2 separate regions of the Homo sapiens genome follow, and region 2 is linked to region 1. The links are contacts of gene promoters, found by promoter capture Hi-C in human tissues and cell types (Jung and others, 2019). All regions are on one chromosome and are shown on one strand. Each heading gives the region's core, a stretch centred on a gene start or on the middle of the fragment in contact. The rest is flanking DNA. Distances are from core to core; before and after follow the strand shown. Region 1 holds the start of TRIM3 (tripartite motif containing 3). Region 2 has its middle 20 kb from the start of CAVIN3.

Evidence for each region. The method cuts DNA at HindIII sites, captures the fragments that hold promoters and counts their contacts. A contact is called where the count stands out against the background at its distance.
Region 2: a contact is called between a fragment that was not itself captured here and the fragment with the promoter of TRIM3 in region 1, in 1 of the 25 tissues and cell types used here (neural progenitor cells).

The regions. Positions count from the first base shown.
Region 1 is chr11:6,470,607-6,478,074 of GRCh38, reverse strand. TRIM3 (tripartite motif containing 3) reads left to right here and starts at 4,134. Exons shown (of 12, transcript NM_033278.4): 1 at 4,134-4,284. It overlaps ARFIP2 (ARF interacting protein 2), which reads left to right. Exons shown (of 8, transcript NM_001376558.2): 6 at 1-34; 7 at 183-357; 8 at 807-1,556. The coding sequence ends at 962. RefSeq lists a silencer at 4,008-4,237 and enhancers at 3,595-4,533, 4,534-5,473. The HindIII fragment of the contact is 11,464 bases long and covers 76-7,468 here.
Region 2 is chr11:6,296,728-6,304,195 of GRCh38, reverse strand. No RefSeq gene overlaps it. Among named protein-coding and RNA genes, the nearest start is that of CAVIN3, 20 kb to the left of the region's middle. RefSeq lists an enhancer at 1-655. The HindIII fragment of the contact is 4,182 bases long and covers 1,224-5,405 here.

The DNA of each region.
Region 1 (7,468 bases), core at 2,885-5,384:
CGCTCATGACTGTGAAACAGTATGAGGCTGCCAGGTGTGGGCACTGGCAGGGCTTAGGGTTTGGGGAGTTGGCTGGTATGGGTGGAAATTTGGGCATTAGGGGCATAAGAATTCAGGAAGGAAAGGAGAGTATGTGTTGAGGATAAAGGAGTGGAGACCAGCCTTTATCACCCCCTCCCCAGGCTGGAATATGATGCCTACCGAACAGACTTAGAGGAGCTGAGTCTAGGCCCCCGGGATGCAGGGACACGTGGTCGACTTGAGAGTGCCCAGGCCACTTTCCAGGCCCATCGGGACAAGTATGAGAAGCTGCGGGGAGATGTGGCCATCAAGCTCAAGTTCCTGGAAGAAAACAAGGTGCCAACCCCACCCCCTTGACCCTAGCCCACCTTTCCATCTGTAACACTAACCTTCCCCTCAGACCCTCCCCATTATTGAATGAGGAAATGCAGCCTAGCTGGGGAGTAGAGTGTTCACCCCCTCAACCCCTGGGCCTTTCCAGATCACCCTCCCTCCAATTCCTGGCCCTTTCCTGTTGGAGGATTTGGCTGCTGGTCCCAGGAACATAACTGGGAAAAATCACCCCCTGAGCTGGGGTACAAAAACCCTAGGCCCACAAATCCAGTGAGGTTTCTTCCATCATACTGACCCTTCTCCTTTGACTCCCTGGGTAGAGTTCAGCCCCTACCCCAAAAGCACCATCAGAGCAGAGTCCTTGTGCCCCTGGTCTGTGCCTGGGCTCAGGCTCATAGACCCTCAAGAAGGGCGCCTGAGTCCAGCCTTAGCTGACCCTGCTGGACCCCCAGATCAAGGTGATGCACAAGCAGCTGCTGCTCTTCCACAATGCTGTGTCCGCCTACTTTGCTGGGAACCAGAAACAGCTGGAGCAGACCCTGCAGCAGTTCAACATCAAGCTGCGGCCTCCAGGAGCTGAGAAACCCTCCTGGCTAGAGGAGCAGTGAGCTGCTCCCAGCCCAACTTGGCTATCAAGAAAGACATTGGGAAGGGCAGCCCCAGGGTGTGGGAGATTGGACATGGTACATCCTTTGTCACTTGCCCTCTGGCTTGGGCTCCTTTTTCTGGCTGGGGCCTGACACCAGTTTTGCCCACATTGCTATGGTGGGAAGAGGGCCTGGAGGCCCAGAAGTTGCTGCCCTGTCTATCTTCCTGGCCACAGGGCTTCATTCCCAGATCTTTTCCTTCCACTTCACAGCCAACGGCTATGACAAAACCACTCCCTGGCCAATGGCATCACTCTTCAGGCTGGGGTGTGCTCCCTGACCAATGACAGAGCCTGAAAATGCCCTGTCAGCCAATGGCAGCTCTTCTCGGACTCCCCTGGGCCAATGATGTTGCGTCTAATACCCTTTGTCTCTCCTCTATGCGTGCCCATTGCAGAGAAGGGGACTGGGACCAAAGGGGTGGGGATAATGGGGAGCCCCATTGCTGGCCTTGCATCTGAATAGGCCTACCCTCACCCACCCACCCAGTTTAATTGTGCTTAGAGCCCAAGAAGATTGGGATCTAGCACTAGGAATAAACCTTTCATAAAAGCAGGCCCAGCGAGGTCAATTTGTCGGGGACTCTAGGAGGGTGGCCTGGGTGGAGACAAGCTCAGTCTAATCAAACACCAGAACCCTATCAAGTCAAAAGAGCTGGGGCCAGGCAGCTGAAGTCACAGGTTTCAGAGATGGTTTGAAGGCCCAGTCTTCTCTCCCAGCCTCAGTTGGAGCCAAAGCTTTGTCCTTTAGCCAGCACCAAGATAGCTATGGATCTTAAGAGCACCAGATCCAGAGGGGGTTGGGTTTGCTGACCTTCATCATGCATTCATTCATACAGCAAATATTTACTGAGTGCTTTCATTTGCCAGGGACTGCGTTAGGCCCTGGGGAAACATCAGTGAATAAAACACGGTCCCTGCCCACAGTGCTTAGGGCCTACTGAGGGAAAGAAGTAACCAGGCAACTACAAAACAGTGATAAGTATTAGGATACAGAAGTACAGAGGGCGCTGTGGGAGCACAAAGGAGGGGCATCTGGCATGGACTGGGGTGGAAATGGGGATGTCAGTTTGAAAGCTGAGACCTGGCCAGGTGCGGTGGCTCACTCCTGTAATCCCAGCACTTTGGGAGGCCGAGGCGGGCGGATCACCAGGTCAGGAGATCAAGACCATCCTGGCTAACACGGTGAAAACCCATCTCTACTAAAAATGCAAGAAAATTAGCCCGGCACGGTGGCTGGCGCCTGTAGTCCTGTAGTCCCAGCTACTCGGGAGGCTGAGGCAGGAGAATGGTGTGAACCCGGGAGGCGGAGCTTGCAGTGGAGCCAAGATTGCGCCACTGCACTCCAGCCTGGGCAACAGAGCGGGACTCCATCTCAAAAAAAAAAAAAAAAAAGCTGAGACCTGAAGGGTGAGTAGATGACAAACAGGCAGGGTAAAGGGAAGAGCATCCCAGGCAGAGAGGCTAGCATATAATGAAGGCTCTGAGTAGGAACTGGGAGGAATTGCTTGGAATGAAAAATGAAGAGGGAGTGGCTAGATGAAGACTGCAGGCTGGTTAAGGACTTTTGCCCTCTGGAGAAGGAGCTGAGAAGTGTTTTAAGCAGAAATTTGACTGCATGGGAGAAGTATAGAGTTGAGAAAAGTAGTCCTCTGAGGCTTAAGATAGTGTCATCTAGACTCCAGTTCCCTCATCTTGGGTAGCATAGTAGCCCCAGCCCAAAACTGCAAGCATGATCCCCGTCTGGGTTTCCTTCACAAGCACTGGAGCATCTTGTGCTATGTGCTGAACTCAGGTGGATAAGAGGTTGAGGCGGTTCCCAAAGCTCCTGCTGCACCCAGGTGTTGAGCCTAAATCTGAACCTTGTGGAGAGGTCACAAGAAAGATCCCTAACAGCACTTTGGTTTAGTCAGGGCTAGGTGTCATCACCTGTATGCCCTTTGGCCAAGGAAACCAGAATTTTTCAGGATTTTCCCCACCTCTGGAAGGCTGGAGGAAGGGGAAGACCCACTCAGCAGATTCCCATAGTGCAGGGATCCTCACAGGCATGACTTTGCCCTTTGTCATGGATACTGCAGCTCCCAGACAGTCTTCTGGGCTTTGATCAGCCTGCAATCATCTGACTAGAGCTTGATTTTTGGGGCAGGGAAGGTGGTCCTTATATGAGCTGCCACTTAATGGGCCACTGGGGATTTTTCAACATGAAAGGTACCGAGTCTCCAAATGCTGGTTGTAGGGCCTAAAAACAGGGCTCAACTCCAGGTTCTGCCACTTTCTAGCTGAGTGATGAGGGCTAACGTCTGGGGAGCAAGATCCCTATTTTTTCCCATTGTAAAATTGGGCTAATAAAAGATGCTACCTACTGACTATTAAATAATATATGTAAAGTGGCTAGTTCTGTGTCGGCACATAATAACCACTCAGTCCCTGTAAACTGTTACAATTATTTTCCACTTGGGGCTGCTTTTTGCACAAGGCGATGATTCTGAGAATTGTCCAGTGTCTTTGGTGTGAGGAAGGGAGTCGCTGGATGGTCTGAACCAGAATTTCCTCAGGAGGGGGCTCCTGAAGCGCCCAAAGCCTAATCAAATCCCCCACCTTTCTACCCCTTAACTCCTTCTCCCAGAGTTCTGGGTACTGCCCTTCTGCCGCCCAGAGATCGTGCTGAGGTACAGACGGTTTCTACGTCTTCCTGGTCAGCCGATAGACTAGCATATTCCATAGGAGCACTCCAAGGAAGCCGGAAAGGGCGCCTCCAGGAGGCAGGCGGCCCAGACAGGCTCCCAGAGTCCGAAATCCCTGCTGCCCCAGCTGCCTTTTCTTGACGGAGTCTCATCTCAATCCCTGAGACCGACTACACCGCCCTTCCCGGAGCCGGAGGCAGCTGGCGGAGATCCGGGATCCGAGATCCGGGATCCGGCTCGCCGGCCCGCCGGCTCCCTAGCAGCACCAAGGAGGCAGCGTCCGCAGGAGGTGGAGGCGTTGGCGGGGGGGCGTGCGGGTGCGGTAGGGGTGGGCAGGCGGGGTGGGCGGGGCCTCCGCGGCGGCGGGCGGGGCGTGGGTGGGTCTTCCCTACTGGAGTCACCCCCTCCCCCGGCCGGTCCGCAGCCCCGCCCCGGCCCCTCCCTCCGGCCTGTGCGGCTAGTCCGGCGGCGGCGCCGGCGCGGGGACAGGCGGAGGCGCGGGCAGGGCCGGGCGGACGGGCGCTGGCAGCAGTAGCAGCGCCGCGGGCCCTTCAGAGTGGCCGCAGTCCGAGCTTTGCCCTCGCATCCTGTTCCAACGCGGTGAGTGCGACGGGCGGGCCCCAAGGGTGCGTTTGTATTCCTGTCAGCCCGGGTCTGGGTCGGAGCGTCTGTGGGTGGGGGCACAGATGATTTTCAAAAGCTGTGCCTCTCTCTGCCCACGTGAGGCGTGTCCATGTCCGTGAGAGCAGCAGGGGGATTCTTCGGGCTGTGGCTGCTCACGTGAGGTCCCTGTTTTGAGGCGGGGAGGCGCGGGTGGATGGGTGATGGTTCCTTAGGGGAGCGCGGGGTTTGGGAGCTTGTGTGTGTTGGCGGAGGGTGCTGAACGCTGCGGCCGAGGGTGGTGGTGGTGGTGCGTGCTGAGTGGGACTCTGGAATATTGTGGCCCATCTTGTCTGAAGGGCTCTTTTCTCCCTGGTGCAGACACCTCCACCCCTTGCTCCCCCACCCCCACCCTACCCCACCCCCCGCCCCTTCCATCCTCTGGTACCCACAGGCCCACCAGTCAGGATGGAGGACACCCTTTCCTCCCCATGCACTGCTCTGTGGACAGAAAGCCTCATGTGGAGGCTGTTTTTTTGTAGGAAAGGACCCCTCTGGTTCTCCTGTAGCCTGAGCCCTGCCTGGAGGACCCCAGGCCCCTCCCTGGTTCTGACCTCCTCCCTTCTGCAATTGGCTTCAGATCCTGGGCTGCAAACCTGCAGGGACAGATGGTTGCAGGTTGGAGGGGCAGGCTGCACCCCAGGGAGGTCAGTTCGACTGAGGGCAGGCCCTGGGCTTGTTCTTGGTGTGGGGGTTCTCTGATGTGGACAACAGAAACTCAGGACTGGCCCTAGCAGGAAGATCACATCTGGGAGGTCACAGCAGGTGCAGAAAACATCACAGGTCTCCCTTGGCCAGTCTGTCTAGCTCACTGGTGCCCATTCATCCCCTAAGCAGGGGATGATTTGCTGCAGAATTGGAATCAGAGCTGCAGGCCTGACAGTAGCCCTGCCTCCTTGGGCTTGTATGCCTCCAGTGACAGAGCACTTGCTACTTTCTGCTGTGGAAAAGCTTCCTTATATTAAGCAGAGGTCTCTCTTCTTGGGACTTTATTCACTTGTCTTGTTACTGCCATTACTTTTGCATCTCTCTCTGATGAAAGGGAACTGCAGAGATTTAAACAGAGCTCTCCTGTAACCAACATATACTGAGTACTTCCTGTGTGCCAGGTACTGCCACAGCCACTTAGGAGACAATGGCATTCTTGCCGAGAGAACTTGAGCAAAGAGTCCATCGTTGGGATAGTATAGCCCAGGTTCAGAAAAGCAGAAAAACCATATGGTTAGAATAGAGAGCGTTCATAGAGTGTCACAGGTGACTTAAAACTCAGCAAACATTTATTTACGGGGGCGAGGGGGCAGGGGGAGTGTGGAGGGGAGGCAACTAAGACCATCCTCTAACACATTTAGCCTAACAGTGGAAACTAGAAGTCAAATCATCGAGGTAGTACAAGATGGGATTTAATCATGGGCTCATGGTACAATCTGTGGAAGCCCTTGGCTTGAGAGGGAACCTTGGGAATCTCAGATTTTGAGAAAACATCCCTCTTCTCCCAATTTACAAATAAGGGAATGGGGTTGGAACTTACCTAGAGTTTCACCTTGTGTTAGTGGAGTTAGTTACAGCATTAGGACTAGATCCTAGATCTCCTAACTTTTTAAACCTAGCCAAATTTCAGAGGCAGAATTGAGGATGTAGTCATAGCTTGTATCTGAAAGGTGAAAGAAAAGGTGTAATTGAGAAGACTACCAGGGTTCTCGCTTGTGTGGGTGGGTGAGTGGTGGTGCCTTTTATTTATTTATTTATTTAGATTTATTTATTTTTAGCATATTTATTTTTATGCTTTTAGGATGTAAAAGCATCATGTATAACCTCTGCCTTTTGGAGATTTGCAATCTTGTCCATCTGTTCCATATTTCTTAGTTTCTCATGTTTCTGTTTCTTTACTCACTGTTTTCCCAATGTACGTATCAATGTCCTATTTGTCTCTCAAGACCCAGCTCAAATACCCCTTCCTCTGGAAGCCTTCTTTATTCTGTACCATCCTCAGAGTTAGGTACTTCCTCCAGTTTGCTGCTGTAGCAATTTGAACATGTCAATATCATGGTACTTATCACATTGTAGTTACGTGTTTCCATTTCTGTTTCTCACATTAGTCTAAAAACTTGTGAAAGACAGGGAGTGTGTCTGATTCAGCTTTGTGTCTCTATTTCACAGCTGAAGGACCTGGCCCACAGTGTGCCCAGAGAAGTTTGATTGAATGGTTCATTCACTTTACTCAGTCTGGCAATGTTGGGGGAGATGGCCATGAATTTCATTGCTTTCCTTCCCTGCTAATCTTATTTAAAGGATTCATTGGCTTTAAGGACTTTGCCTCATCCAAGGCTTCATTTGTTTCAGAGAAAGCCCAAAGACTGTAACCTGCAGTCATTTGTCATTTTTTTGAGGTCTCAAATGATCAGATAAACCTGGAAGCTAGTGAGTAGACGTGAGTTATTTTAGCAAGCAAATGAGCCTAGCTGACCTCTCGCATCCATTTTCAACAATGCCTTGGTTACCTCCATTCACAACTGTGTAACTCATGTGTACTGGGAATCCTGTGAGATTGTAGGAGGAAGTCCTGGGGAAAATTAATGCTATTTGAGAATTTGGAGAAACTGAAAAGCCTTGAAACACATCCTTTGCAGATGTCCAGGATCTAGTGGAGTCAGCACTGGCTGTCTTCATTTGTTCACAATCAGCTTCTTGCTTGACTCCCTGCATCTGGCTTCCTGTCCTCCATCCCCTGAAAACCACATGCTCTGAGGTTAATGAAAGCCTCTTTGGGGCTTAAATAATGGGACCTCTGCAGCATTTCACTCCCTTGTTCATGAAGTTCTCTTCTCCCTTGGCATTCATGACATCTGTTTCCTGATTCTCTTGCTTCTCTGGTTGTGCCTTCTCAATCTTCTTTGCAGACTCTGCTTCCTGGGCCTATCTCTTAAATATTGAGGTTCCTTGGGACTTGGTGATAGACCCTCCTTTCTCTCTTTACCCTCTCAGGGTAATGTCATCCACGCCCATGGCTTCAGGAACCATCTCTGCACCAACATCCACATTCATGTCTCCAGGCCAGACCTCTCTCTTAGGCTTCAGCGTATCTTTCCAACTGCCAACTGGACCTCTCCACTTGAATTACATCCCA
Region 2 (7,468 bases), core at 2,065-4,564, 170 kb after region 1:
GTTAATAGCAATAGTAAGTGAAAATAGAAAACTGTCACATGGTAGTGTTATTAAGGGGTCTCACCATATCACCATGTCATTAATTTTAATATGGATTTTAATATTTAATATGATACAAATTAGCTTTAACTGTGATTTTCTGCTTTTGATTTAGGTGTGATTAAACAGAAAGGGGGAAGAAACATAGTGTGGATCCGGTGCAGACACACATCATCCCCACAGCGGGAAGTTAAAAAGGGGTTTAATGATGTAGAAAAGGGCATTCAGGTCAGTGCATGCTGACCAGGCTTGTCAGCAGTTTGTCTGAAAGGAACAAGGAGGATTTAAAGTCACAGAGACTCATGTCGGCTTAAGAGTCATGCCTCTCACGAACATCATTGTTATGCAAAGGGCACCTGTACAGCCAAGTCACTGTCCATAGTGCCTGGTTTGGTGATTTGTTCAGTGTAGGCAGGACAAAGCGGAGGGGGCAGAGAAGGCTTCTGCGACAGGGAAAAGTACTAAAATGCTTAGGAGAAGCTGGGTGGTACCTGGGGCCCCTTAAGAGTGATTTGAGGAGGTAGATATACCTCTGGAACAGATTAAGCACTGGCAAAGGCTTATAGATCATTAGGGCTGTTGAATGTTTCCATAAATTTTGTTTCTGTTTAATTTAATACCCCAGAAGGTGGTCAAGAGGGGATATTCAGAGACTCCTGAAAAAAACAGAAGTGAGTCTTGAATATTTTGTTCAACTCTAATGGGTTAAAGAAAAGCCAAACAAATCACTATTCTCATGGTATGGATGGCAGCTGAGTTGTATATAGGAACTCTCCCAGTGTACATTTCAAACATTACAGTAATTCAAAGCTTATTGCAGACATGTTATCAAAGTTAACAAGAACTATTAGAAAGAATAGAGGTAGGCCGGACATGGTGGCTCACGCCTGTAAACCCAGTATTTTGGGAGGCTGAGGTGGGCGGATCACCTGAGGTCAGGGGTTCGAGACCAGTCTGGCCTACATGGTGAAACCACATCTCTACTAAAAATACAAAAATTAGCTGGGCAAGTTGGTGGGCACCTGTAATCCCAGCTACTTGGGAGGCTGAGGCAGAAGAGCCACTTGAACCTGGGAGGCAGATGTTACAGTGAGCCGAGATTGTGCCACTGCACTCCAGCCTGGGTGACAGAGCAAGACTCCATCTCAAAAAAGAAAAAGAAAAAAAAATAGAGTTAAACACAGGACAAAGAAAGCATTTTTCTGGTCAGGTAATGGGCATCAACATGTCCTGTGGACTTCGATTATCTGAGGTTGGGGGTTGGGGATTGAGGTGGCTAACACGATCTACAGTGGGAAGCTCTTGGGCATATGGGCAAAACCTTAGACAGCTACCTCATGGACTCTTTAATCTTCCCTGAAGTTTACAGAAGCTAAGGCTTTTCTGGAAAATAAGGGGAGACTCCTCATATCTTTTAATATGGCTCTGAGCCAGCATTATGTGGGTCCTGGGCCAGCTCTCAAAACAACAGCCCTGAGCAGATAAGGAAAATAAAACACAAGACACTGACCACTTTCAGTATGTTATGCTTCCATTCATCCTTATGGCCCTATATAAGCTTTAATTTTTACCAGAAAGAGAGCTGCCTCTATCACCCCTCTAATGGAGCCTCCTCTCCATCCAAATACTGTGCTATTTGGCCTGCAGTTGAGGGGTTATCTAGCAGGCCGCGCCTTCCAGGGAGGGAAGGGTCTGTCAGGAGCTACTTCCTAGATGGCTTCGCAGTGATCAAAGGAACCAGGGCTGCCTTTGAGTTCAGTGATTGTTGCCCTCCATCCCCCTATGGCTGTAAGAGACTACAACCCTGGAAAACAATCACCTTTGAACAACATTGGAATGGAACTCGGATCAGATCTTGCCATGTGGACAGCCTCGGGTTTTTGGTATATTGCTCATTGCTCATTTGGGTGGCACAGTTACAAAAAAGGACAAAAATGATCAGGAAGCGACAACCCCGAATTTGGGTCTTTTCCGTGTGTACAACTTAACTATTGCCTCTGGAACGACAAGAGGCAGCATATGGATTTTTGCTTTTGTGGGGATGGTTTTACAAGTAATTCCAGTAGGTTACTCTGCTACGGTGCTTGACAGCAGCACCCTGGAGGGCCATACCCCTTCCTCCTTGCTTCCCTGAATATTTGAGATGTGCACAGCCTGCCGAGCAGGTGTGTAAGACTCATTCTCAGGCGGTACTTGTCAGCAGAGGGCTTTTTAGACCCATCAGGAGGATATCTTGCAGGGGCTCTTAGTGGTATTGTGTTTCCAAAAAGAAGGGTGATGGAGTGGGGGTACATCTGTTGAGCCAACAGTTATAATTAGTCATGGTAGATTTTAAAAAGAGCTGTGTATTTAGAATTCACATTTATGATGTGGTCTCTCTTGTTCTGGCAAGATACATTCTGAATTATGTAAAGGATTCTGAGATTCTGGATGTGCTGAATGTGGAAAAGCATTGTTCAATTACATTCTTATCATGGGCCCTGTTCATTACACATCCACAATCACCATGTCCACAGTGTCCGTGGAAATTGGGTTTTCACATAATTTTCCACAGCTGTTTTCTAATTTGATACCCTTAAATGACACTGTAACTCCCTGTATGATGACTGCCAGAACCTAAAGCCCCCAGGCAATTTTCTAAAGAAACATTGATAATAAATATTGGGGTGGTAGCCCGATAAATAGCATCTCTGTTCCCTAATAAAGTTGGAATAGAAGTATGTGGCAACAGTAGACTTCCCAATCCTGAACTCCTCTGGTATCAGAGAGATTTGCCAAGTTATAGTCTGACCTGAAAAACCAGAGTCAAGCAGCCATCAGCACTACCGCTCTGTAGATAGGAAGATTCCCAGAGGGAGAGAAAGAGGGCAGGAGGACAGGGCTGGGCCACACACACCCAGTTCCCCTTTCAAGTCAGGCAATTCACTTGAGAGGCATAAGACCTAGGGTCAGAGGGTTTAGGGAAAAATCCTTCTCATGAAAGCAATAGGTACTGCAAAGGAGCCTTCCTCTACTAACACTATTTTCTCAATTTTCCAGAAATTTCTTTTCCCCAGCTCAAAATAGCTTTGTCCTAAATTAGATGATCCAGAAACAAAGGACTGAGTCATGATAGGCTGTATATCAAACTGTTAACAATGACACACTTGTGTAAAACTTTTTAATTTGTTTTGTTCTTTTTTTTTTTTTTTTTTCAGAGACGGATTCTCACTCTGTCGCCTAGGCTGGAGTGCAGTGGCCGATCTCGGCTCACTGAAACCTCCGCCTCCCGGGTTCAAGCGATTCTGGTGCCTCAGCCTCCTGAGTAGCTGGGATTACAGGCCAGTGCCACCATGCCTGGCTAACTTTTTTGTATTTTTAGTAGAGATGGGGTTTTGCCATGTTGGCCAGGATGTTCTCGAACTCCTGACCTCAGGTGATCCGCCTGTCTCAGCCTCCCAAAGTGCTGGGATTACAGGCATGAGCCAACTCGCCTGGCTTGTTTTGTTCTTTTTACTTACTTTGGCTCATCTGTCACAGAAGTCCTCTGCTAAACAAAGATGTTTGTGGATGTTTCTTCCCTGAGCAATAATTAAACAAAGTTTTTCAAATTGTCAAAATCATTCTAGCATTCTGGGGGATGCCCTTAACCTTGATGATGGACTTTCCAGCTACTAACTTGGGGCTTTATGACTCAGAAACTTGACATGTTCCCAAGGTAACATTAACTTCTGGGTTTGTTTATTAACCGTCCTAAGAAAAGGTCTCACTCTCTGCTGTTAGGAATACATGTTTTGATAATGACGGTGGTCCTACACACACTCAAGCAAGCCATAAATACCCAGGAGGGCATATACTGTGGTGAAAGATGAAGGCCTTTTTTCTGAACTGGACAAGTATCCTCAGCATTTTTCCAGCAAGCCATTATCATTACCGTCATCTATGCATTGACAATAGGATATATTAGCCATCGCTAAAGTGGGGTGCACAATCTCAGGGGCTACTCAGGACAGCCTTTTGAAATTTCCATTTTGATGATGAGATACCTGGTACAACTTCTCAGCACATTACAATGTCTGCCAAAATAGTGTCAGGACACCTCAGTCAATAGAACAGAAAAAACACCAAGTGCTTCTGAACAGGGATGTCATCATAAAGCTTCTAGAAAGTTTCTGCGCTAGGTTGCTGGGAAAGTCGCCAGACTGGGCTGCCTCAAAAGTCTCTGATACTTTGCCTTAAAGTCTCTAGGCCCTCTGTGGCTAAAACAAAGACGGGGACAAGCCATTAAAGGATAATTTAGTTCTAAGTAGCCATTAAAAGATAATTTTCATAAACAGGTAAGATCAGTACTCTTATACAGATATAAGAATAAACATGAGTTAAAGTTTTTATTTAACTAATTCATGAGGAAAGCAGTGAAGTATTACAACCAGGTGAAAGGAGAATCCCAAGGACAGACACATTTATAGATCCGGAATATTAAAATGACTGTGCAAATACAGCCAGATGGGGTTTTTTTTGTTGTTGTTGTTGTTTTACCGGACAGCATTCATTTGCATATCTATAGACAAGAATGATTTAGCATTGCTGCCAGTTATCTACACTTTATAGAGCTGCAAAACAGCTCCCACAGAATTGGAATCAGACAAGTCAGGTGTGCTCTGGAATGACAACACGTAATTTTCAAATTAAGCACAATTTTTTCCTTATAGTCCCCCCACTTTTTATTACAAAGAACCTCAAAGATTCTTGATGACAAAATGAGTATGGTCTTATTAGATTCGGCCTGGTTCTTTAAACAGGTGCAGCAAGACTGTTAACCATATGGGCCTTCTTTAAGTTTTTTCCGCTAGAGGTTCTCTAAGAAATCTCAGCTTGATCTTTTACAAGCTTCTATTCATTTGCTGTCTTGAAGCTAAGATGGTAAGTCCAAGGAAATTTCTCCATAAGATTTCATCTGTAGTATCTATACATTTTGGCCTAATTCCTTTCTTCTTGAATCTTCCTTCCTTCCTTCCTTTGCCATGTTGGCCAGGCTCGTCTCGAACTCCTGACCTCAGGTGATCCACTCGTTTCAGCCACCCAAAGTACTGGAATTATAGGCATGAGCCACCGTGACCAGCCTCTTCTTGAATTTTTCAAAACCTCTCAAGGCTCTTGGCCTGCCACGAAAGTGACCTCCCTTACCACCTCCAAGGCTGGATCCTGGATAAATCCAGGTACCAGGACGGTTTTCCTTGGACAGATTTGCCAGCACTGGCTCCATCAAATCAACCTTAGTTTCCTAAAAGGGGCTGATCATGCACAGGCTATGGCTTCCCTGGGCTGGCAGGAAGCTCCTCTGCAGCTGCTGTTCACAGAGCTGCAGCCTGGTGGCCACTGATGCCAAAGACTGGGTACTTGGAGCCACTGGTGCGCTGGTCAGCAGAGGGCGTGCTCCCTGCCACCTGGGCGGAGAGGACTGGGGAGGATGAAGTAGGGTGAGGTTGGTGGGCTTACTACCTTAATGCTAACTCTCACAGCTGTTTGGAGATGAGCCCACCACCACCTGCCCCTGCTTGTCTCAAATCTTTTCTAAAAAGGACAAAAGAGGCTCACCAGTTGTTCCTCGTGTTCCTGGTTACAAATTATTTGGCAAAGTTTATCCCAGAGATTATCTTTAGAAAACTTTCAAAAATAATTTAGCAAAAGTATGAAGCACAAACAGAAGGACCTGTCAACCACCATGTCAGGCTTCAAGACATAAGAATTTCGAATCTGAACCATTTTTACCTGTACTCTGATTTCCAGGTATGAGCCATCATATGATTGATTACTGCTTTTATGTTCTGCTTAAGAAATCTTTGCCCACTCCAAGGAAATCTTGTCAAATCATTAGAAGAAGCTTTAGGTCACCAACAAGAATGTGGGACTGTGAATCAGTCTCAAAATCAAGAAATTAAAGCAGTCAAAAAAAAGAAAGAGAGAGAAGGAAAGAAAGAAAAAAAGAAAGAAGGAAAGACAGAAAAAAGAAAGAAGGAAAGAAAGAAAACAGTAATTTAAACAGGAAGAAAATATTGCCAGTTGCAGTGGTTATTTGGACCAGTGAAAAATAAGGCATAGTAGGAGAAAAGGTAAATTATGTTCAGGGGTTGCCCCCTAGTGTTCCTGGGCAAATTTGTAGTCTCACTGTAGGAAATGAATGGATTATCATTCCTGACCTTTATGAACTAGTCCTCTCAAGAGGAAAGGAGTGGTGAAAAAACTTTGGTGAAACAAGTTCTCTCTGAACACATCATTCTCTCTGATAGAGAAGGTGTACCTGTTGGCGATCCTGGTGCTGGTCTGGAATTAAGCTGGACAGATCCTATGCATTGCCATCTCTCTACCTACATCTTTTAGAAGAGTGGCCATTTCATGATGTTTTACATAGTATGGTAGCAGCATATTTATGTTACAGTCCTGATGTTAGTTATGTCCAAGGATGCATGTCATTGTGGTAATGCTCATTCTCAATTTGGAAGAGACCAATGCCTTCACTGCATTTGCAAAGATCTCATAAATAAGTCACGCCAGTTGGTCTTCTGTGTGGATCACAGCAAGGTGTTAAGATATTTTGCAACGTTTGAAGTATTCTCTGAAGACAATTTCTTCAGATTGTTTCTTCAAGTCTTATGGCCTTACACCAGGCACATGCTTAATAGATAGGATCTTCACACTGTATCATAAATCACTACTCTACTTGATCTGTTCTATCCAGTCTGAGATGTTTTACAGAGACAGGAAGAAATTTTTATTTAGAACTGGACTAGGAACCCTTCATCTGTATGAAGATAGTTTCCTACAGATGGACTTGATTCATATTGCACCTTGTCTAACTAAACGGGCAGAGGCTATCATATCAGAAAAGCTGTTTAGCTGTATTGCAGTCACCTGGACACAGAAGAGTACCAAGAAATGGCCCTAGGTCTTTGTGTCTGTAATGAAGCATATTAAAGAAGGAGATAAGGATATTTTTAAAATGTAGCATATTTAAAGTATTAGAAGTTCAAATCCATTATTTTCTGGGAATTTTAAGAATATTCTTTTTATATAAGTGCTTATTTATCTCTATCAGCCAATCAGAAAAGAGCCTCTTTAAAAAGAGATTGATAATCTAATTTATTAGTATTATCTAGAGGTAGGAAAATTTTACATACTTACACTGTGAAAGGTAAAGATCTTTCTAAATTATGGACACATAGACAAACAGAGACAAAGAAATCTTATACTTCAATTAAAAATTCCATCATGGGTTAAGGGTAATAAAGAAACCCCAAAACTCACCAGTCTCAGTATGAAAGATTTGTTCTCCTTCCCAGTGAGCCCAGGATTCTTAATTCATTTGGGCTTAAAGTAGACAAATAGACAAACAAAAAGAACTAATAATCCAGATTCTCCATTTTCTCTCACACAAAAGAGAATATGTCTC